Linked DNA regions of Homo sapiens: all the other regions are linked to region 2. The links are contacts of gene promoters, found by promoter capture Hi-C in blood cells and fetal thymus (Javierre and others, 2016). All regions are on one chromosome and are shown on one strand. Each heading gives the region's core, a stretch centred on a gene start or on the middle of the fragment in contact. The rest is flanking DNA. Distances are from core to core; before and after follow the strand shown. Region 1 overlaps CFAP299 (cilia and flagella associated protein 299). Region 2 holds the start of PAQR3 (progestin and adipoQ receptor family member 3). Region 3 has its middle 25 kb from the start of PRDM8-AS1. Region 4 has its middle 6.4 kb from the start of CFAP299. Region 5 holds the start of LOC124900725 (a long non-coding RNA gene). Region 6 overlaps FGF5 (fibroblast growth factor 5). Region 7 has its middle 12 kb from the start of PRDM8.

The links. Contacts are between HindIII fragments. The CHiCAGO score rates a contact against its expected background, and 5 or more counts as called.
Region 1: a fragment that was not itself captured here is called in contact with the fragment with the promoter of PAQR3 in region 2 in 2 of 17 cell types (M2 macrophages and fetal thymus); the score reaches 5.6 in M2 macrophages.
Region 3: a contact is called between a fragment that was not itself captured here and the fragment with the promoter of PAQR3 in region 2, in 7 of 17 cell types (naive CD8 T cells, M2 macrophages, fetal thymus and 4 more). The highest score is 9.8, in naive CD8 T cells.
Region 4: a fragment that was not itself captured here is called in contact with the fragment with the promoter of PAQR3 in region 2 in 2 of 17 cell types (fetal thymus and M0 macrophages); the score reaches 6.5 in fetal thymus.
Region 5: a fragment that was not itself captured here is called in contact with the fragment with the promoter of PAQR3 in region 2 in 13 of 17 cell types (M0 macrophages, M2 macrophages, total CD8 T cells and 10 more); the score reaches 9.1 in M0 macrophages.
Region 6: a fragment that was not itself captured here is called in contact with the fragment with the promoter of PAQR3 in region 2 in 1 of 17 cell types (monocytes); the score reaches 6.0 in monocytes.
Region 7: a fragment that was not itself captured here is called in contact with the fragment with the promoter of PAQR3 in region 2 in 16 of 17 cell types (fetal thymus, total CD4 T cells, total CD8 T cells and 13 more); the score reaches 16.5 in fetal thymus.

The regions. Positions count from the first base shown.
Region 1 is chr4:80,349,494-80,352,364 of GRCh38, forward strand. All of the region lies in intron 1 of CFAP299 (cilia and flagella associated protein 299), which reads left to right. Among named protein-coding and RNA genes, the nearest start is that of CFAP299, 15 kb to the left of the region's middle. The HindIII fragment of the contact is 3,813 bases long and covers 1-2,871 here.
Region 2 is chr4:78,937,746-78,940,692 of GRCh38, forward strand. It overlaps PAQR3 (progestin and adipoQ receptor family member 3), which reads right to left and starts at 1,693. Exons shown (of 6, transcript NM_001040202.2): 1 at 1,295-1,693. The coding sequence starts at 1,479. RefSeq lists silencers at 1,223-1,292, 1,383-1,872. The HindIII fragment of the contact is 16,646 bases long and covers 1-2,947 here.
Region 3 is chr4:80,170,356-80,173,394 of GRCh38, forward strand. No RefSeq gene overlaps it. Among named protein-coding and RNA genes, the nearest start is that of PRDM8-AS1, 25 kb to the right of the region's middle. The HindIII fragment of the contact is 619 bases long and covers 1,081-1,699 here.
Region 4 is chr4:80,327,727-80,330,844 of GRCh38, forward strand. It overlaps a transcript of CFAP299 not described here. Among named protein-coding and RNA genes, the nearest start is that of CFAP299, 6.4 kb to the right of the region's middle. The HindIII fragment of the contact is 1,200 bases long and covers 1,246-2,445 here.
Region 5 is chr4:80,231,260-80,234,512 of GRCh38, forward strand. It overlaps LOC124900725 (a long non-coding RNA gene), which reads left to right and starts at 948. Exons shown (of 2, transcript XR_007058161.1): 1 at 948-1,027. The HindIII fragment of the contact is 546 bases long and covers 1,031-1,576 here.
Region 6 is chr4:80,268,221-80,271,564 of GRCh38, forward strand. All of the region lies in intron 1 of FGF5 (fibroblast growth factor 5), which reads left to right. Among named protein-coding and RNA genes, the nearest start is that of FGF5, 3.2 kb to the left of the region's middle. RefSeq lists an enhancer at 413-983. The HindIII fragment of the contact is 639 bases long and covers 1,389-2,027 here.
Region 7 is chr4:80,208,188-80,211,459 of GRCh38, forward strand. No RefSeq gene overlaps it. Among named protein-coding and RNA genes, the nearest start is that of PRDM8, 12 kb to the left of the region's middle. The HindIII fragment of the contact is 355 bases long and covers 1,589-1,943 here.

The DNA of each region.
Region 1 (2,871 bases), core at 356-2,855, 1.4 Mb after region 2:
CAATTTTTAAAAAGCAAAACAAAGTAGAAAGCTGAAGACTAATTTTACTTATGAACTGGATGAAAGAAATTTAAAATGAATCCAAGAATATATTAAGAAATAATAATGTCAGAGTGAAAATAGTATGATTTGTTATAGGACTGCAACGAGGAACTCATGATATTAAATGTAAAAAGAAAAAAAGATTATTTCTATAGATGAAGAAAAAGCATAGATAAAATTCTAAAGCCATTCTTACTATAACTTGATAAGGAGTATTTTCAAACACTTATAGGAAACGTCATACTCAGTGTTTAAACACTTGAATGGTTAGCATTAGAATTAGAAACATGATAAAAATGGTTGCTACTACTAGTAATGTTTTATTGGCAGTCTAGCAGTGCAGTGCTGCAATTTAAGGAAAGTGTCATAAATATTTGAAAAGAGTCAGAATATAATTACATATAGGCAATATGATTATCTACAATGAACATACAAGAAAAAATGCTGAAATCCTATTTTAACAAATAAGTGAGTTTAGAAAGGAAGTTGAAAATTGAGTGAAAACAACTCTGTTCACCAGCAATGAATAAGATAATAACAAAAGACATAAACAAAAATGAACACAGCCTCAGTAACCTGTGGGGCAATGTCAAACAGTCTAACATACATTTAAATGGAGTCCAAAATGAACAAAGGGAAGGAAGGAATAAAATATATTTTAAACGGTAATAGCTAAACATTTTCCAAATTTTATGAAAAGTACAAACCCACAGAGCCAAGAAGTTCAATGAATTCCAAGCAGAATAAATGCAAAGAAAACTACACGAAGGAATGTTTTAATAAAATCACTGAAAACTAGTGATAAAGAGAAAATCTTAAAAACAAAAGTAAAAGAACACATTATAAAGTAAACCAAAAACAGGAATGACTGAATATTACCCAGCAATCCCATTACTGGGTATATACCCAAAGGATTATAAATCATTCTACTATAAAGACACATGCACATATATGTTTATTGCAGTACTATTTACAATAGCAAAGACTTGGAACAAACCCAAATGCCACCAATGATATACTGGATAAAGAAAACGTAGCACATATACACCATGGAATACTATGCAGCCATACAAAACAATGAGTTCATGTCCTTTGCAGGGACATGGATGAAGCTGGAAGCTGTCATCCTCGGCAAACTAACACAGGAACAGAAAACCAAACACCACATGTTCTCACTAATAAGTGGGAGCTGAACAATGAGAACGCACGGACACACAGAGGGGAATATTACACACCCGGGCCTGTTGGGGGTGGAGGGAAAGGGGAGGGAGAGCATTAGGACAAATGGCTAATGCTTGCGGGGCTGAAAACCTAGATGATGGATTGATAGGTGCAGCAAACCACCATGGCACATGTATACCTATGTAACAAAGCTGCACTTTCTGCACATGTATCCCAGAACTTAAAGTAAAAAATAAGTAAATAAAAAAAAAGAAACAATGCAAGCCATAGAAAAATGAACGGCATCTTTAAAGTGCTGAAAGATTTGAAAAAAGTCAACCTAGAACACTGTATCAGAAGAAAAGAGTAAGGTGAGATAATTTATTTTCCAGCCAGGATAATTTGTTGTTAGCAGATATATATTACTAGAAATGTTTAATGAAGTTCTTCAGGTTGAAGGAAAATTATATATAAGCAGGAAACTTGGATCAAAATGAAAATGAATGAAAAGCACCAGAAATGCTAAATATGTGAATACAAATTTTTTCTCAGTTTTATATTTAAAGATTATTGATTATTTAAAGAAAAATAATGACATTGCATTTTGTGGTTTATAACATGCACAGAAATACAGTATGAAACAACAATAGCACAAAAGATAGCAGAGGATAATGTTGCAATGGGTTCTTATACTTGAGATGGTGTAATATTATTTGAAAGTAGAATGTAATAAGCTAATAATTCTTGTAAATCACAGAGTACCTGCTGAAAAATAAAGTAGACATATAACTAAAAATGTAATAGTGGAGATAAAATGGAAATAAGAAACAAAAAATAGAAAGCAAAAATAATCAAATATCAAAGCAAATGGGACTAATAAGAAAGAAATAACAAGGTAGTATATTAAAACCCAACCATACTGAAAATTACATTAAATGTAAATGATCTAAACATTTCAATTTAAAAGCAGAGATGGTCAGAATAGATAAAAGTTCAAGAGCCATATATGCTGTCCCACCTTAAATATAAATACAACAATTTAATGTAAATGTATTAACATTAACAGATTAATAATAAAACATTAAGATTAATATTAATGTTATAGTTATAGTAATATATTAATAACATTAAATTAACAATCTATTAATGTTAATACATTAAATTGTTTTATAATTAATGATTTATTAATAATTATGATTTATAAATAATGTTAATATAATGTTAATTTTATATTAACATTAATAGATAATTTTAAATAGATTAAAAGGATGGGAAATATGTATTATACAAGCATAAAGAAAAGGAGATTTATAATGTCTATATTAATATCAGGCAAAGTAGACCTCAGAACTAGAAGTATTTCAGGGAAAAAGAAGGACTTTTTAATATAGATAAATGAGTCAATCAATACATTAGCTTACATGCCTCATGCCAGATCCTCAAAATGCGTTATGCAAAATTGATAAGAATTGAAAGAGTAGACAAATTCACAATTGTTTCTAGAGACATAAACATTCTGTTTTCAGTAATTGATAGAACCAGAAGTTAGAATAAATGTAAGTATGTAAAAGATTTAAAGAGCAGTCAAAGGCCAGGTGCAGTGACTCACACCTGTAATCCCAGCACTTTGGGAGGCTGATGTGGGTGAATTACTTGATATCAGGAGTT
Region 2 (2,947 bases), core at 443-2,942:
CTTTGACTCAATAGCTCAAGAGCTAATGCTCTATACTTAATTTTCCACTCCATGAGATTTGGACCCTAACATCAGAACGCAGAAGACCACTGCTAGTTGAGTAGAAAATATTTAAGGCAATTCACTGCTTGCCCTATTCTTGTGGAACTCCAGATCCACAGCAGAACTCAGCTGTGTAATTTACTCATGCACAGGAGGCACTGGGGAGGAAAACGGTAATTACGCTTCAAGTTGTGAATCCTAAGGGCCATCCATTCAAGCCAAGTAGGGATGGGCAGTGATGTCACCTTGTGACCATGAGTCACAGAAACACTTTCATGGCAGGACAAAAGGAAAGAAGGGCAGGAAAAGACAATGCTGGAAAAATCAAGAATCAGACATGTGGTTGCCGCTTGAGCAATTCAACAGCCCACATTCTGGCACTAGGGTTTGCCACTACAGCGACCTGGAGCTAACCAACACCTGTATCTTAATTCTCCTGAAGCAGAGGTCCTGTATTTTAGTACAGGTAGTAAGTTTGGACAGTTACTCCAAGAACTAGAATAGTTATTTTTCAGTTTTGTTTTTTTAAAACACGGATTTTCAAGGGACTGTGGTTTTAAAGGTTTAAAATGATAAAGAAATTTCTTTCTTAGAGATGCTTCTGTGGTGCTCTAGTGGAGACTGGGTGCCCGTTATGAGCTCTCTTTACCACAGTACTTTTCCTACACAGCATTTTTTCCACAATGGTTATTATGTAATTGTGTAATTATCTATTTAATGTCTGTTACCCAGGCTACACCTTAGTAGCTTCATGAAAACAAGGGCCATGTTTGCTTTTTTTTCTGCATGGGCTCCATAAGTATTTGCCAAATGAATAAATCTCGGGTGTATATGTTAACTTGTTTCCTATTATACAGGCACTTATCTGGCCCAAAGCTACTGAATTCCCACAGTGTTGCTCTAAAAAGAAAGGTATACACCGGGCAAATATGGCTCAGCCCCATTTCAATATATATCTCAATGAGCCGAACAAACCGAATAAAGGATGTAAAAGCCCTTTGTAAAGAGCAAAGCGTCATAGGAGAGCTGTAATTATGATCACTGTTACTATCATGATTATTCCGTGGACCAAGTACCCCGGCCAGGTAAGGGGAGATAACGGGGGAGGAGAGGCGGCAAAAAGGGATGAAAAGGATGGGGCGGCGAGGAAATGATGGGCAAGCAGAAAGGCGGGGAAAGCAGAAGGGGGACCAGACAAAAAGGGTGTAGGTGAGAGAAGGGGGCACTCCAGGCGGAGGCAGCCAGACCGTACCTTTTGATACACAGCCTGGACGGCAGGTAGGCCCGGTAGCCGTCGGTGATGTACGGGTTGTCCTTGAGGGACCCGGGGATCTGCTCGTAGGTGTACAGGCGGATGCCACGGGGCACCAGGACCGGCCAGTACTGGTAGCTGCCCAGCTCGATGTAATGCGCGCTCTTCAGCAGCTTCTGATGCATCGTTCCCGGCCGCCGCCGCTCCCCGGCTCGGGAGCTCCCCCAGGTCCCGCCTCCCCGGGGAGGGGGCTTCGCCGCTGGCGCCCCCGCCCCGGAGCCCGCGGACGCTGCGCGAGGTCCTACCGCGCTGCCGCTGCTGCCCAGGGCCCGGCTCTGCGCTCACACCGGCCACTGCCGCCAGCGCCGCGGCGGACCCGGCAGCGTCGCAGCCTCCTCTGACGTCAGCGCGCCGCGGCGGCCCCGCCCCTCAGCCCTAGCTGGGAGGGGCAGGGTGCTGGGGCGCGCCCGGGTGTGCTCGAGCGTGCGCTGGCGGCGGCCCGGGCTCCCGGGCGTCTCTCACGCTGTGTTTTGGCGGCGCCTGGGGTCTTCGTTTGCATATGAGAAGAGCCGAAAGCACAGAGCTACAGGCGAATACAAGTGGATTTTTTTTCTTTTTCTGTTTTTTTATTAGAAGTAATAGTTGCTGCATTTTGAAAAATCAAGAGGAAAAGAGTTAACAGGAAGAAAAGTTCGAGGTAATTACCGTTTAGTTTATGCTTGGAATTACACACACTTAGTGTCAGAAGGGACTTTGAGGATTTCTAAGCTGAAGTCAGCTCTTAGCACGATAATTGGAAAGAGAGGAAACCTGATGCACGTGGAACATACACCAGCATCGAGCACATCCTGAGCCATAAAGGAAAGCCCCCGTGCATTCAAAACTCCGACCCCTTTCAGCGTTATGTTCTCTGATCACAGTAGAATTAAACTAGAGTAACAAGAAAACTAAAAGTCTCCACGTCTGGAATAGGAGCAATACACCAAATATTTCAAGGGCTGATGAAGAAATCACAATGGAAATGAGAATATCTACTTAACTGAATAATATAGAACATATTAAAAAATCCTGTGGAGTGCGGCTATAGTAGCGTTTACAGGAAGTGTTGCAGCTTTGTTTCTGGCTATTTACTGTAATGCAAGTGTTTACTTATAATGGCAACAGGGCAAAACATCAGTTTGAGTACCGTATGTGTATAATAGAACGCTTAGTCCATTGTTTGGCATTGTAAGGGCAAGAAAAATATCTTGTCCTCACTTATCACAAGGTTCACAGCTGACATTCCTATGAAAAAAATTAAGAGAAGCCAGGCGCAGGTGGCTCATGCCTGTAATCCCAACATTTTGGAAGGCCGAGGCAGGCGGATTGCTTATGCCCAGGAGTTGGAGACCAGCCTGGGTAACATAGTGAGACGCTGTCGCTACAAAAAAAACCAACCAAACAAACAAAAAACAAAAATTAGTCGGGTGTGGTGATGGGCGCCTGTAGTCCCAAACTATTCTGGGCTGAAGTGAGAGGGTTGCTTGAGCCTGGGAGGTCGAGGCTGCAGTGAGCCATGTTTGTGCCACTGCACTCCAGTCTGGGTGACAAAGCGAGACTTTGTCTCAAAAAATAAATAATAAAAATTAACAAGAAAAGGGATAATAAATTCAT
Region 3 (3,039 bases), core at 140-2,639, 1.2 Mb after region 2:
TTTTGCATGCTCATAATTTGTTGTTAGAAACTGGACATTTTAGATAATATATCTTAGTAACTCTGGAAACTGGTACCCCGCCCCCCTCTAGGATTGCGATTATTATTTTCTTGTTTATTTGTTTAGTGAGTGCTGAGTTATTTTAGTTGAAGTCTATTCCCTGGCTTCCATTCCCTCACTTTTCAACATACACATCATGGTAAGCCTCTGATGCTCTCTGATCAGTGAGGCACAGTTCTGGGTATATCTAACAATTATCCTGGGATAGTAGTGGTACTGGTAAGATTCTCTCCCACCCTTTCGCTGATTACACCTAGCTGTTAAACTCTACTAATTTCTGGCCTATTGCTTAATTGTTTCCAACAGTGCCCTGGAACATAATTTTTTCTTTACAAATAAATCCAATTGGCCGGGCATGGTGGCTCATGCCTGTAATCCCAGCACTTTGGGAGGCCAAGGCGGGAGGATCATCTGAGGTCAGGAGTTTGGGACGAGCCTGGCCAACACGGTGAAACCCCGTCTCTACTAAAAATACAAAAATTAGCTGGGCATGGTGGCAGGTGCCTGTAATCCCAGCTACTCAGGAGGCTGAGGCAGGAGAATCGCTTGAACCCATGAGGCAGAGGTTGCAGTGAGCTGAGATTGTGCCATTGCACTCCAGCCTGGGAGACACAGTGAGACTCTGTCTCAAAAAAAAAAAAAAAAAAAAGATATACAAATAAATCTAATAATATTGTGACACTTTATATGGGAAAGTTTCTGAGATCAGTGTTTGCTATTTGTATTAACTCCAAGAGAGCTCCTGTCAGCTATCTTATTTCCCAGTTCTCTCTTACAAACTAGCTGGCCTACAGTCTAGGCTATATCTTCATTTGGTCCCAAAATTTCCTCTCAATTGCTTTTCACCACAACTTCTACTGTTCTTGAGAGTGCCCTTAAGTTTAAAATTATCTACACTTTGTTTGGAATAAAGTAAGATCCCTTGGGAAGAGATAAAGAGTTGCATGCTTTATGGCCTGATTCTCTCCCTAGGCAAAATTTCTGAGCTAGAGCACGGAGTTGGGGGTGGAAACAATGACAAGCTTCTCTCTGAGTAATACCCTGGCTCTAATTGCTGAATGCTTGGTGGATGGGGTGAGAGAGGAGTTTGCAGGTCTTTCAGCTTGCCACTCATGGTGTGGAAACTTTACTTCAAAGGCCAAGGAAAAGGCTCCCAAGGCTCCAGTATTCCTGTTAACAGCCCAATTGGTTCATCTTACCCACTGCCCAGAAAAGCCAATTCCCTGAAAATAGCAGATACTGCAGCAAAGAAAGAGTTTAAGTATTGAAAGCTCGGAGGCTAAGGATAATTTGGCAGGCAGGGGGTTAGGGACTAGGTCCTGCTGATTGGTTCAGGATGAAATCATAGGTGTATCCAAAATGTTCTTCATGTGCTGAGTCAGTTTCAGGGTAGGGGGTCACAGGATTGGTTAAGTCAGTTCCCTGGTATGAGTCACAGATCCAGGTGGCATCAACTGGTCAGCCAAAGTGCAAAAGTCTGAAAAATACCTCAAAGACCAATATTGGGTTTTGACAATACCGTTGGTATCTATAAGAGCAATTAAAGAACTTACAAATCTTGTCATCTTCGGAACTGTGGCTGGTTATCATTTAACTACATCTACATCTTACCAGAATTCATTCCCCACTCATAATCCTAAGCTTTTGGCCTTTCATTAGTCCTACAAAGGTGGTTTCAGTCCCCAGAGGGGGTCAGTTTTTGGGGGAGACTATTATCCTTTATTTAAAGTTAAACTATAAGCTAAATTCCTTCCACAATTAGCTTCGCCTACACCCAGGAATGAGCAAACACAGTTAGCTTGTTAAGTTAGAAGTATGGCAGTGTCAGCTAGGTTACATTTCTCTCACTGTCATAATTTTTGCAAAGGTAGTTTCATTCTCAATGCACCACACCCAAGGTAGAACTTCCTTTTTACAAGAAAGTGTTGGGTGGGAGAAGGAAGCTTCCTCCTCCCAGTTGTATTCACCTAAGACTTAGCCTTAGCAACAGACAGCTACGGGCAGGACCAAAAAAGCTCAAGTTATGTCCTATTGCAATGAAAGCCCTGCAGCTGACACCTAAGGAATATAAAGAGTCATATTCTTGGCTGCAGCGTCTGGAGTAGAGTCTCTGCCTCACTGAGCTGGGAGGGGCAAGGAAAGTAGTAGTTTCAGTTCAAATGTCACAGACTCACCTCTCTTGACAGATATTCATAATTTCCTCTAATAGGTATTTCTTTATTTACCATTTGCCCTTAGGACCATTTCCAGAGAATTTAAGTGGTTGTTTCTTTACACACAATTTTCACCAGTTTCACTGAGGAGTGGCTCAGCAGAGTTTCCCACACTGCCATTCTAGAAGTCAATCTATTTCACTTGTATTTATTGTTCAGCTATATATGTTACTTACAAGACTCTTCTTTGCTTTCCACTCCTAATTTTCTGTTTTCCTATAGCTAACTCTGTCTCTCTCCTTTGAAACACTGACTTCCAACTTTATATCAGTCCTCTCAAGTTTTCAAACTCTTAGTTTCTATGAGATTTAGAAATCGGGCTTTTGTTTGTGCTGATGTTTACAGTGAATATTCAAGACTCTGATATTGGCTATAATTTTTTTTTAGAGTTAAAGTCTTCCTTTGTTGCTCAGGCTGGATTGCAGTGGCACAATTTTAACTTACTGTGGCCTTGAACTCCCAGGCTCATGCAATTCTCCCACCTCAGCTTCCTCAGTAGCTGGGACTACAGGAACGTGCCACCACAATCAGATAATTTGATTTATTTATTTATTGCAGAGACAGAATATTGCTATGTTGCCCAACCTGATCCTGAGCTCTTGGTCGCAAGTTATCCTCCCAGCTCAGTCTCCTAAAGCACTGAGATTGCAGGCATGAGCCATGACAACCGGCCTTGAGTATAATTTTAATCTAAGGCTTCAGGAAAGAGAGCATGCTTCTCCACCACTGTCCTCTTCCATTTTTTTGTCTGTGGGTTAGTTCAGGT
Region 4 (3,118 bases), core at 596-3,095, 1.4 Mb after region 2:
CAATACATATATATATATATATGTTGAGAAAGCTAAACTAGCTGGTGGATTAGATGTGCAGTGTGAGGCAAAGGGGGAGAGGTTATAAATTAGAAGAGGTGTGGGCCCAGGATTAAGCTCTGGAACATTCAAACATGTAGAAGTTTAGCCAAGGTGGTGGAATTAAAAAGTTACACTAATAAGAACAGGTAGTATGAGTGCAGTATGAGTGTGGTATTATGGAAGCTAAGAGAAGAAGGTATTTTATGAATGACCAGCAAGCTGTGCTTCATGCCACTGAAAGGTCAAGTACATTACAAGTAGAGCCACATCCCTATGATTTGAAAACAAGAAAGTAATTGGCGACCTAGAAAAAAAACAATCTTAGTCAAGTGGTGGCCGAAAATTTTGGTTGGAGAAAGCTTAGAAGAGAACAGGGAAATGAGGAAGGGGTGATGATAAATATAGATTACTCTTTCAATAAGTTTTTTTAATAAGGTGAAAGTAAAAATGACAATAATTGAAACAAAACATGGGGTCAAAGGAGCTCACTTGTTTTAAAGACATGAGATTCTAGAATGTGCTTGTATGCCGTTGGGGTGACCCAGAGTGGGAGAAATGGACAAAGCTAGGGAGAATGTGACTAACAGCAGGATGAAATCCTTGAGAAGGTGAGAGAGGATGATATCCAGAGAATTGGAGGACATAGGTTGCATATGATAGGAATATTATATTCATCATAACAAAGGACAAGATTAATACCTAAGAACAAGTGTAGATAGGGTTGTATTGTGTGGGTAGGTAGGGGTGGGGGTGGAGTGATGCTGAAGGGAATGAGGAGTAAGAGAGAAGGAAGATGACAATTTTGAATAGGAAAAAAGGTGTAAAATAGACTTAAAAAAAAGAAAACAAACCACTAAGACAGTATGTTGGTATTGCCAAGTATGTTGAGACTCGTGGTCATGAATTAGTTTAGTAAAATCCTGTGCTTTGTTCCAGAAAACTGCACGATATGACAAAATTCCACTGTTTTCCTCTCTTCTGAGTGATTTCCTGTAGGCTAAATCTGAACAGTTATTGAAAGTTTAAGTTAGAATATTATCACAGAATTTTGAAGCTAGATGTGCCCTCAGAGCCCATCCAGTCCTAACTCATTGTTTTCCAGAATAAAAAATTATTTCCTATTGATTTCTTAAAACACATCATTCTTGCATTCTATGGTATAGAATCAACTTTTTTCTCATATATTTTCCACTCTGTACACCAAGCTTGTCAAACCCGCAGCCCGTGTGCCATGTGCAGCCCAGGACGGCTTTAAATGCAGTCCAATATACATTCATAGGCTTTCTTAAAACAATATAAGATTTCTTTTTTTGCGATTTTTCTTTAGCTCATCAGCCATTGTTAGTGTTAGTGTATTTTATGTGTGGCCCAAGATAATTCTTCTTCCAATGTGGCCCAGGGAAGCCAAAAGATTGGATACCCCAGCAGTACACTGTATACATATATATATATATATATATATGTTATCATTGCTCCTGTAAATTTTTATTTTTCTCACTTATTTACACATTTATATCTCCAATTTACTTAGTTCATCTTCTTCCTTTCCTTCATTCAGCCAACTACCAGTTCAGGTCCTCCTTCTGTCTTCCCTAAATGATAATATCCTTGAAGATTTAAAGAATCAGGTGTTATTTTTTGGTTGCACTCTCAAAGCCTAGCACAGTTCCTGACTCTTTGGTGACTTTACCTTACTGAGGTAATTTACATTACTGATTACTGAGGTAAATAAGTTTTACTTTTGTTTCAATAAGTGAGATTGAGTAGGAAAGATGGATCAAAACATTTTTATTGTGATTAATGAATCTGTAGCCAAAGAATATTTGATATCCTAGAGAAGTAGAGCTGAGCATGAGTTGAATTAGCTCTTAATGGAATTGGCACCACTTCCTTTAATGCTTCTCTTAGAAAGTCTAGTGATTTTTTTTCCCTTTCTATATCTGCTTAGTTGTGACTGGAGTTGTATTATTACCATGGCTGCAGAAATCTTGAGTACCTGACGAGCTTTGATATTGTACTCAGAAGCTAGAAAGAAGATGTTAGTTTAAAATAGATCAAGCTCTTAGGAATTCTATAGAGATTATCATGTAATTTAGAAGAGCTAAATATATTTCTCAGAGAGGCAGCCTATTTCCACCTCATCTCTGGGGTTTTAACGATGTCTCCTTTTATTTTCTTCTAAGGTTTTATCTGAATTTCTTTTTTACCCTCAAGTCAGTGCCTCATTATTTGAGTTTATTATGTACCAGGAAGGTTTCATTAAAAACCAACCATGCCATTGTATTTCTTATTTTGAGCAGGTAAAAGTTTGATCTAAAATGAAAATCTTCTGACTTTTGCTTCAGGGTAAAAAGTGTGCAATAAACTTGAAATCAGTCTCTGGCTATAAAATTCTTTCCCCAAAGCTTTCTTAAGTACATCTCCCCTGCAGCTACTCCTAATTTCAACCTCCCCTTTTCTTCTGTCTCCTGACCTAAGATGTCTTCCTACCTCCCCTCCAGTCATTTACTGCTGTCAGAATAATCTTTAAAACTATAGTTCTGATGATCACGTCTTTGCAAACACTTCTTTTGGCTTTCTTTTGCTTGGAGAGTATGATTAAAGCTTCTTAAATAGACAGACCACAGCGTGGTCTACTTTTAACTTGCCCTTCCATTTTTCTGCCCTCTTGCATATGTCCTGCACTTTAAATAAATTTCTCTTATCACCCTTCCCTGAACATACCTCTCGTTTTCTCACCTTGAAACTTTAGCACATGAGACTCAGTCACATGGACATTTATTCAGAGTCCCAGCTCCCCATCTCAGTACTTCATATTCAGCACAAAGGCCATGTCATCACATTTTCATGACAACTTCCAGTTGGAAGTAATTTTTCACTCATCTGAATTTGCATAGTGCTTCAAAATATCTCTTTATCAAAAAGAATTCTGACTTGTGCTGTTATTACATTGGTATTGCTAAGTGCCTTTCTAAAATGTAGGTGCTAAAATTTAGGTTGTTTTTCTTGATAGTCCTCATACGGATTGTAATGCCTTTCACCTTGTTTCCAAAATGAATCACTGAAATATATAGAA
Region 5 (3,253 bases), core at 54-2,553, 1.3 Mb after region 2:
CATAAATAACTATTGTGTTGCCAGTGTTCACAGCTGTGTTGCTGAGGACACAAGGAATGGATAAGTCAAAGGATAAGTATGTGCGACATCACTCGATCATGGCTAATTTGGCTCACCTGAATATTCTGAATGTCAACCAGACAGGATTGGGTCACAGGATATATAGCTGGGAAGTGAATGAGCAAGCAGAAATAATTATCAGTGTAACACAAGAAGCACCAGACTTAGAAGTTTGTTCCTGACTCCGTTTGAGAATTTAGGCAAGCAGTTCCCTCTGCCTTATTTTCCCACTGGACCATAAATGAAGAAATTATCGATGTTTTTAAAAATTATAGATGTTTTAACTTTTCCAGTTATATTTTGCATTGATTATAGGATTGAAAGGCTAGAGGGAAACCCAATTGACCAGTGTTCTTAGGAAATTAACATAATTGGTTTGGGCTGGTTTACAAAGAACAGATTTTAGAAATATAAATGAAAACATTGCAGGATGAGATAGTTACTTCAATTTTAAAAAAAGTAACAACACGATCAGGCTGTTTTAATATCATTCAATGAAATCAAAATGACTATAGCTATTATTCTAATTAACCCTAAGTTTTAAAACATTTCTGAGGTAACATGAATATGCACTCAAAATGAGTATCGTAAAATACCAAAAAGTATATACAAGTTTTACATTTTCTTTTGACTTTGATTTTTATATATTTTCATTTCAATTGTTATTCAAAACATTTAAAATTATATAATTATATCATCAATAATGCGGTTAATATCCTGTAGTTTTGTGACTCCTAATTTATCACCTAAGAAAGCTAAAACAGAATGAGCATATGAGTTTCCTTCTCCATGTTACTTGTGCACTTAACTTTTGAACTTTTTATTTCTATATTTTCATTCAGTCTCTCTAAAAAACATTTTTTTCTCTATTGTAGTGGAAAGAATATAATCTTTGCTGGAACCTGAACTGAGATTCAAAATCCTGCCACTTTACTAACAATGTGACTTCAGGAAATTTATTTAATCCGTAAGCTTCATTTTTCTTGTTCTCAAAATGACAATTATTACGTATACTTTATGAGCTGGTTGTGAGAAATTAGAAGAATAACATGAACAGTGTCCAGTACTCAGCAGGTGTTTAATACACAGTAGTGCTTTCTATCCTCCATTTACTTCTTCCTTAAACTTTTACTTGAGGATTTTAATTGTAGAACTGGTCCTGTGAAAAAGTGAAACAATTCATCTCCTCCAGCCCCAATTCTTTTCCCTTTCAGATATCAAGAGTCTTTTTCTCTAATAATCTCAAAATCTGTAAAGAGTTCTAAAATCTAGCCATTTTTATGTGCTTAATACAGATTTAGTTTCAGATTCCATTGAGCTTGCAGGGGACTTACAGGTAGATAATTTAGCCCATTTTACAGTGGAGGCAGTGAAGGGCTAGGAAATGTAAATAACTTTCCCAAATACACATGGTGACAGTGCTAGAACTTAATCACTCTTTTAAATATTAAGTCCACTGCTATTTGTATTACATCTCTTTTAGCATTTTGAGCTTCTTGGTAATTGTTGAATGATAAGCTTTGTGTTTTCTTAACAGAATTTGAGGTCCCTGTAAGTGAAAGGGTATTTCGGGTTACAGCTGAGAAATGGTGCAGACTCCTCAGACTGCTCTGGCTACGTAATTTTCAGGGCCCAGTGCAAAATAAAAGTGTGAGATCTCCTTTTCAAAAAAAAAAAAAGGAAAAAAGTACCATTAAAGATATCCAAATATAAGGGTTTTTCTTCTATTTCTGCTTCTCTTTCAACTTATACTGTTTTTCATTAGCATTTAATTTTGTTCTAAGTAGAAAATTTTTTAAATTTAAGATCATTAGAAATTTTACAGCATATCTTCATATTGTGCAATGCCAGTTTTAGATGTAAATATAAGAGCATTTAACCTGTATGCAGAATCACCAAAATTATACAATTCTATTTTGTATTTTGTATGTATTCTGTTGTTACCAGAACAGTAGAAATCTGCACAAAGCTAACATGTTTTTTCTTTCCTTTCTTGAAGGATACACATTCTACCAATACATTCTACTTTTGGCTTACTGATAAGTAAGGAAGGAAAGCAAAAGGAATTGGGGCCTGTCCTATCTTTCCCTTTTCTTCTGATCTTATTTTCAACATAACTGGTTGGCTAATACGAAAAAAGCAGCCCAACACCATTGCCTTCTTTCTGCATTCCAAACAAGTTCTAGTTGAAACTGAAAGGGTGGCATCCCAGGGACCTCAGCAAGTCCCCCCTACATCCCCACCCTACCGTTAGTCAATCTTAGATTTAACAAACTGACCTCATACTACCTTTCTCACTGAACTACTTACTACGCATTGTGAGTCCACTGGAATTCTGTGCTCATGGGGCATCACAAATGCTATATATAAATGTGGCAGCAAGGAATAGTGGTGGATACTCATATTGAGATATCTCCTGTGCACACTCCTCGGCTCCATTGTACCATTAGATTTCATTTCCAAAACATAAGTTATAAATAAATTTATTTAAAATTTCAAGACGGCAATGGAAGAGCTTTAAACCTAACATGAGGTCTTTCTGAGCCTAGGACCCGTGACACTGCACAGACAGCATGCTCATGAACTTGACCCTACTTCAAAGGTTCTTGAAATCAAAGAATCAGGCCAATACTTGGCTTGCCTATGCAGTGAGACAAACCCGTTCTGCTTTGTGTTACTTCTTCTCTTCTTCCCTTATTCTTTCAAGAAGCTTTTATCCAGAAACTCTTCCTTCACATCTGACACTAACTTTCTACTGCTAGTTTCCACTGCTTACTGACCTTTTATTTTATATTGCCGTGTTTTAATTTTACTTAATTTCTCTTTAGCATTATTATTCACCAGTCATATGAACTGTATGAAGCAGTCTATCACACTTTCCAATCTTTTCAAAAGTATTTATTAACATTGTACATTACAACAAAACTATTGCTTGTCTGTTTTGTATTATTCTTTCTGAAATATGTCCTACAAATACAAGTTATTTCTGCATAAGTTTTTAACCCAGAATAAATCTAATACACTTTCATGTTGGGTGGGTGATTGTCTCCTTATAAAAGTAACAGTAGTAAATGTTTTGCCTCTTGAAACTTTGATAAACATTTCTTTGCTTTCCATTTTATAGCGCTTTCACAGTGCTCACCAAACTTCCTGTTTTTTCCCTGAATATGCAGGAACTGAATTTTCTTTCTTC
Region 6 (3,344 bases), core at 458-2,957, 1.3 Mb after region 2:
TTGGGGCTGTGAGTAGGAGTGGGGAGATCTCTGTGGGGCTTTTGCTCAGTAGGGCCAGATCGCTCTTCCAGCGCGGGTTGGTCCACCAGGCAGAGCCCCAGCCAGGGCCTGTCAGGTACCCAGGGAGACCGGAAATGTAGCCAGGAGACAGCAGCGCTCACAGTCACCTGGTTTCAGTGTCAGCCTGGTTGCTCCTAGATGTTCCTAACTTGCTCCATCTCAGACCAAAGACTCCACGGGCCATTGGGCTCCTTCTTACACAGGCTCCAGAGGAGCGTGGACACCACCGGCGGTCTGAAGATTTGGCAGCCAGCAGTCTCCAGAGGGGGGTCGGAGGCGCGCAAGTGGGTAAGGCGGTAGGCTGGCTAGCCTCCTCCGGTGGGTTAAGGGGGCCTAATGCGGAAGACCTGATGGTTCATGCTGAGAGAAAAGCAGGTCTATGCCCGCCCCTCTGCGCCTGTCTAGTCTATCTGATCGCGCTGATTCAGCAGCCTGCGGCGCACGTGGTGAGGGCGCCTGGAGCGCCCAGCTGGAGAGAGGGCCCTCCGCACACGCACCAGCGAGTCCCAGGGCCTCCCTCACACTCCCGAGAGGAATCTATTTCCATATTTTAGAGTTTATTTCACTCATCGAATAACTGCTCATTTGGGGGATAAAGGGCAAGATCTGTTGGGGTGAAATGGAATTTTCTGAGATTTGAGGAATAATCAGTAACATCTATTTATTTCCATTCGTCCTTCTCATTTTGTCTCAACGGTCTTTTGACTCCATCAGCCATCACAGCTTATTCCCACTTCCGGCAACCTTTCCTTCTCTCTTACAAGAAAACTTTCTTTCTTCTGTTCTTCTTGTAACGACCCGTGGAGTCATTGGTCTGAGATGGAGCAAGTTAGGAACATCTAGGAGCAACCAGGCTGACACTGAAAGACAGGTGACTGTGCGCGCTGCTGTCTCCTGGCTATGTTTCCACTCTCCCTGGGTACATGACAGAGCACCAACAGAGGATAACTTCCGTGAGCTCAAGGGCGGACCCCAAACTAGCAGGCAGCAAGCAGCAGGTTGGAGCCCAGGGAGCTCAGAGAATGCTTCTGGGGAGGGTTTAGGTGTGCTAGAGATCTCAGAAAGCAAGGCTCATTCCCAGGATATTCACCATCTTCTCTACGAAGACACTATATGAGACGAAGGTAGTTTTACAGCTTAGGCCTTGCTAGAGGGGGTGTTGTAGAAAAGCAAAGGGGGGAAAATAAGAGCAGATCAAAAAGAGTGCACCCAGATAAACAAGACATTGACCACTACCCAGTATGTAACATGTACATTTTCTTTTAAAATCCATGTTGAAAGATATCTACAAGAGAACAGGGATGTTTCCTAAAACAGTGCCGACAAAAAGCTTAATTTAAACTTTTTCCTAATTTATTCTTGTTTACAATAACCTTTCAGAGTTTAGTTTCTGTGTCTTTCACATGACTTGCTTTCATTCATGCCATAAATCATGTACCCAATATAAGATACCTATCTCACTAAGCATGATATTTTGGTTACTTTTGTGTTGTTTGTCTTCCATAGAGTTTTTTTTTTTTTCCCCAGAAGAAAGCATAGCAAATATTCAAATCATAGTAATTTTCTGCTTTGTGATATCTGGAGTGTCTAATACTACTTCATAAAATTTTTACTACCTTTGATCAATGCAGAATTTGCATGTAATTTGGGAATTTAACATGGATCTCTGCCATTACCTAGCTGTAAAAGAGAAACAGAAACTTGCTAATTACAATTGGTCATTTACCTCTTTGAAGGCAGTAGTTGATGTTTCCTGACATTCGTGTAAACTAAGGTGTTGGCCATGGCCTTTCTTAGAGTATGTGAGGAAATGTGTTTAAATCTCCTAAGAGAGGCTGAGAGGGCTGGATCAAGGGCCACAGAGGATACCTCAGTTTGATCTCATCTTCTATTTCTACTGTATGTGAGTTAGTGATGATAGAAAACCTATTCTTTTTGTTACAACCCTGATACTTCAGAAAAGTCAAAGCTTTGCCATGAAACTGCATTCTAACAAGTTATTTTAAACCTAATAATATTCTGTAGTATTTGTCTGATAGAACAGATAATCATATGTGTTTCGCAAACTATTATTTGACAGTAAACTTTTTTTTTTTTTTTGCAAATTGCAAATGTTTTCTGGTTTCACCATGAGAAGTGCACCATGGCCATGGACTTTCAAACATAATTTGTTTAGTTTACATGGACCAATTAATATACTCTTAGCTTCTCTTACACAATAATTATCCCAAGTTTTGAACACAGAAAATGAAATCAAGCTCATTGTATATAAATCCTTATTATGAGGAAATACTGTGGAAAAATGAAGAAATATGAACAAGGCAAGATAGATGACCCAACTATTGCATGGAAACAAATGGTTTGGTTTAATTTATACGCCTTCAAGTTTAATGTCAATACAGTGCTTCTGTTGACTTACCTTGGGCCATTGAAGAATAGGCAATCAAGTAGTTGTCAGTTTAGGGAAGAAAAGTTTAAGGCTTTGTCAAAGCGTTTACATAAAATATGAAAATTCCAAGCACATATTTTGGTTAATAGAATCGTCGATGTTACTGCTTTTTAAAAAAATCTAAATTCACTACCAATTTTGGGGTCATGTGGAGTCATTAGACAGTCCCCCAAGCCTAGATAAATCAGAATCTATATCTACTATGCAGAAAAATCAAGTGGAAAATTTCTGTTGCTAATTTAATCAGTGAAGACTGCTAAACTGAATATTTCAAGATTCAGATTTCATAACTTGGCACAGCATATCTGTTACTTTGTGGATGCAAGTAGAGAAACTTCAGTTTTAAAATATTTTTGTCTGGGGATTTTCAGATGCGTTGTTGAAAGCTTCTGAATACATGGAATATCTGTGCTTTTCTATATTTTATTCATTAACAAAAGAGAGAAAAAGGAAAAATGTGTATAGTTGTATCAACCACTATCAGTAGAGCCCTATTATATTAAGAAATCTGCAGAGGACTAAGTCAAAAATCTAGAAATATGTTTTTTTTTACGGAAGTAAGCTTACATCATAATGCATAAGTGGAATAGACTGTGTGTATAAGCTGAGAGACACCAAGACATTCTTGCCTTCTTCAGCCTAGGTGTCAATGCTGAAATTCCACAAAGAGAATAATTCCTTCTGTTAAGCATTCTCCTCTTCTTTTGACCCTCTTAAATGGGAACACCTTAAGAAAAATAACACACTGTCTGTAGCACTTTAATGTGAATTTATTTACACTGAGCCACCCGTCCACCCCGTGCCTTCTCAAGCAGGAGAAGGCCACAGTAGCAGG
Region 7 (3,272 bases), core at 516-3,015, 1.3 Mb after region 2:
ACCCCACACCACACACCCCACACTCACCACATATACACACCACACATACTACACACACCACACCACACCACACCACACATATACACATACCACACACACCACACCACCACACATACACACCATGCCACACACATACACACACACCACATACGCACACCACACACGCACCACACACACCACACATCACATCACACGTACAGACACAACACACCACACATGCACACCACACATACACACCACACATATGCAACACACATACCACACACACAGCACACACACAGTACATACACCACACACTACACACATACACACACAACCACACACACCAGACCACACATACACTGTCCCCCGCAACACACACACACACACACACACACCCCCAGCTGCCTCCTGAACAGTTTCTCCCAGCTTGGAAATTTCATTTTTTTCCTGAAGGTGAAATATGACCTCAAAGGGGTGTAGAAAATTTAGCCTGCCCAAGAGCTAAACTGGGATTGGGGTGAGAAGGTGGGCCTTCTCACTCCCTTTTCCTCCTCCAAATGCATTTTATTTGACAGAAGGCCCAGAACGTTGAGGCAGTAACATATGCCTCAGGCTGGTGGGCCTGAATGATTGCCTTCTAGCTTTGTAAACTGGCTGGGCAGCAGCTGCGGAGCTCTTTGCCTCTGCTTCATGAATCATATTCCTAAGGCAACCTCTGCTTTTCCCACTTTAGATATGGAACTTAGAACGTTTTAGAAACCTGTATTCTCCAGGCCTAGTGAATAAAGAAACTGAAAAAAATTTAATTCTTTTATTTTAATCTTTAGGATTAGAGGTCTGGTACAGGTGTTCTGTTTGAATAGCTAACCTGGTTATGCTCATTATTATTTGCTTATCTCTTTTCAAGTTGTGTGTGAGCATTAGAATATAAATCTATGCATATGTGCAGGCATGTGCATATGTGTTCAAATATGTAAGTATATATTACAAACTGATACACATATTTATATATACAGACATACATAAACATTTTAATCCACACACAGGCACATAACTGGCAGGCGTTATTCTAAGTGCTTTTCATGTGTTTACTTGCTTTAATTCTCACAGCCTACCCAAGGGCTACTGAGAATCCCACTCCATCATGTTTCAGCATTGTGTAGTTAGTACGGTTGTCACTCTGAAACAGAAAGATGAGAATGTGATAATGTAATGAAAAAATAGTGACTCTTATGTCAGGAAACCGGTTCCAAATTTTGTGGCCTTTCCATTTATTTATCTTAGTTTCCTTTACTTGAACATGTGAATAATACCACCTGTGGGCTTATCACATAGCGGTGTCTTGAAAAGCAAATATAATTCTACATGTAGCAGCTTTTTGTACTATTGAATATGATTGACTCCCATGTTGGTAAAAGAGATATGCTTTTAGCCTCAACTTATCTTTCTCAGGTAGTCAAAATGCTCTCATACCTCTATAAGAAATCTTTTGTGACCTTGACTTACTTTAATGATCTTTTCTCATTTTTAACCAGAGGTGGGAGTAATCGCTGGTTTGATTTTGTGGTTGTTTATGTAATTACTCAGGATTTTACTCTGTGCCTCAAGCTTACAGGAGAGTCACTGAAAAAATGTTTGATACATAATATCATGTAAGCCTATAGGTTCATTCATGATATATATATATACACACACACACACACACACACACACTCCACACACACATGCACCCCACATAAAACTATATATATATATATATATATATACACAGTTATGTGTATATAACTATATATATATATTTTAGTTGGCTTAGCTGTAATAATCTTAAATTATAAATACAGCGTGTTCCTAGTGCTTAAAAATTGTAAGTCAGCCTAATGCTAAGGATGGAAAAGGCTATAAGAGGAGTTCTAGATATAATTTGCCATGCTGTAGAAAGTATGGTTACAATGCAGGAGAGAAGCTTATCCCTTTTCCTAGTTACTATGTAACAAATTGCACCTTACTTAGAAAGCTACACTGTGCTCAGTGCTTAATGAAGACAATGTTCCCTCTACAGATCAAAACGGATCCCTCACTCCAGCTCAAGCTTTTTCCTGTTTTTAAATGGATCTTTAAAAATAATGCATGACTTAAAAAATCATAAAGAACTCTAATGCTGCTAAAACATAGAGACTTGAAGAATGCATACAATATCTTGTTTTCCCAAATTATTTAGAGAATAAATTCTTTAAGTAAAAAATAAACAAGGAAGGAAGGGAGGGAGGGAGGGAGGGAGGAAGGAAGGAAGGAAGGAGAAGAGAAGAGGGACGGAGTAAAGAAAAGGAAGGAAGGATGGAAAGAAGGAAGAGAGAAATTGGGAAGAAAAATAATCATGGGATTAATTTATCTAACTTTTTGTCCCTTTACTTCTTTTCCCACAAATGTCCAGCCACCAATTCCAAATTCCTCTCATACTGTTTTTTTTTTTTTTTTGGCATTTTCTTTGGAGAAGAGCCTTACTGTGGGTTTCAGAGTAGAAATCCATAAATCAGTCCCACCGTTGACTAAGATCTCTTGTGCACACCTGCTTCGAGGATTAAAATCTGGACAGGCATACCATGATTGCACTTTTCTCTGAGGATTCATCTCTGGGTGGGTGTGTTGGTGTTATACTATTGCCTGTGCCACTTTTTCTGTGTTTTGTTATTTTTTTGTGAAGTGTGAAACTTTTTTTTTTTTTAAGCAATTGATGACTTTTTTCTCTCTCAAACAAATGAATAAAGTCCTGTTTTACACTCTGGCAAAATTTCACTGGGTCTTTGAGAAAGACAAACAGAGCCAAACAGTGACACCCAGCCCCCAAATGGATGCAAATCATGTAATTAGAAAAATTTTAGTATCCATAGTGTTCAGTTCTTCTTTAGGCTAAGAGGTCCAGCGTCAGGGCTAAGCGAAGGAGGAGGAAAGAAAATAAAGGAAATATTCCTGCAAGGTCCTTCCTAGAAAGATAAGAGTTAGCCTTCAGGAAGGAGTAAATTGACTTTTTCATTAAAATGCTTTTGTAGACAGTGCTAGTTTAACTATTTGCTTTAGCAGGGCTAGGTGGATAAATGGTGAATGCCATGAAGCTTATTTTCAGGGACATTCGATCTGCTCCCTAAATTCCATCTCAGAACCTCCCATTTTCAATCGTCTCTTACCTTTAGGCTCTCTTAGATTTCCCTGAGTTCTATCCCCTCCAACAAAGAGGTAGTATCCAAAATTGCCACCTGTGTGAATAAACAGCAAAAAAAAAAAAAAAAAAAAGT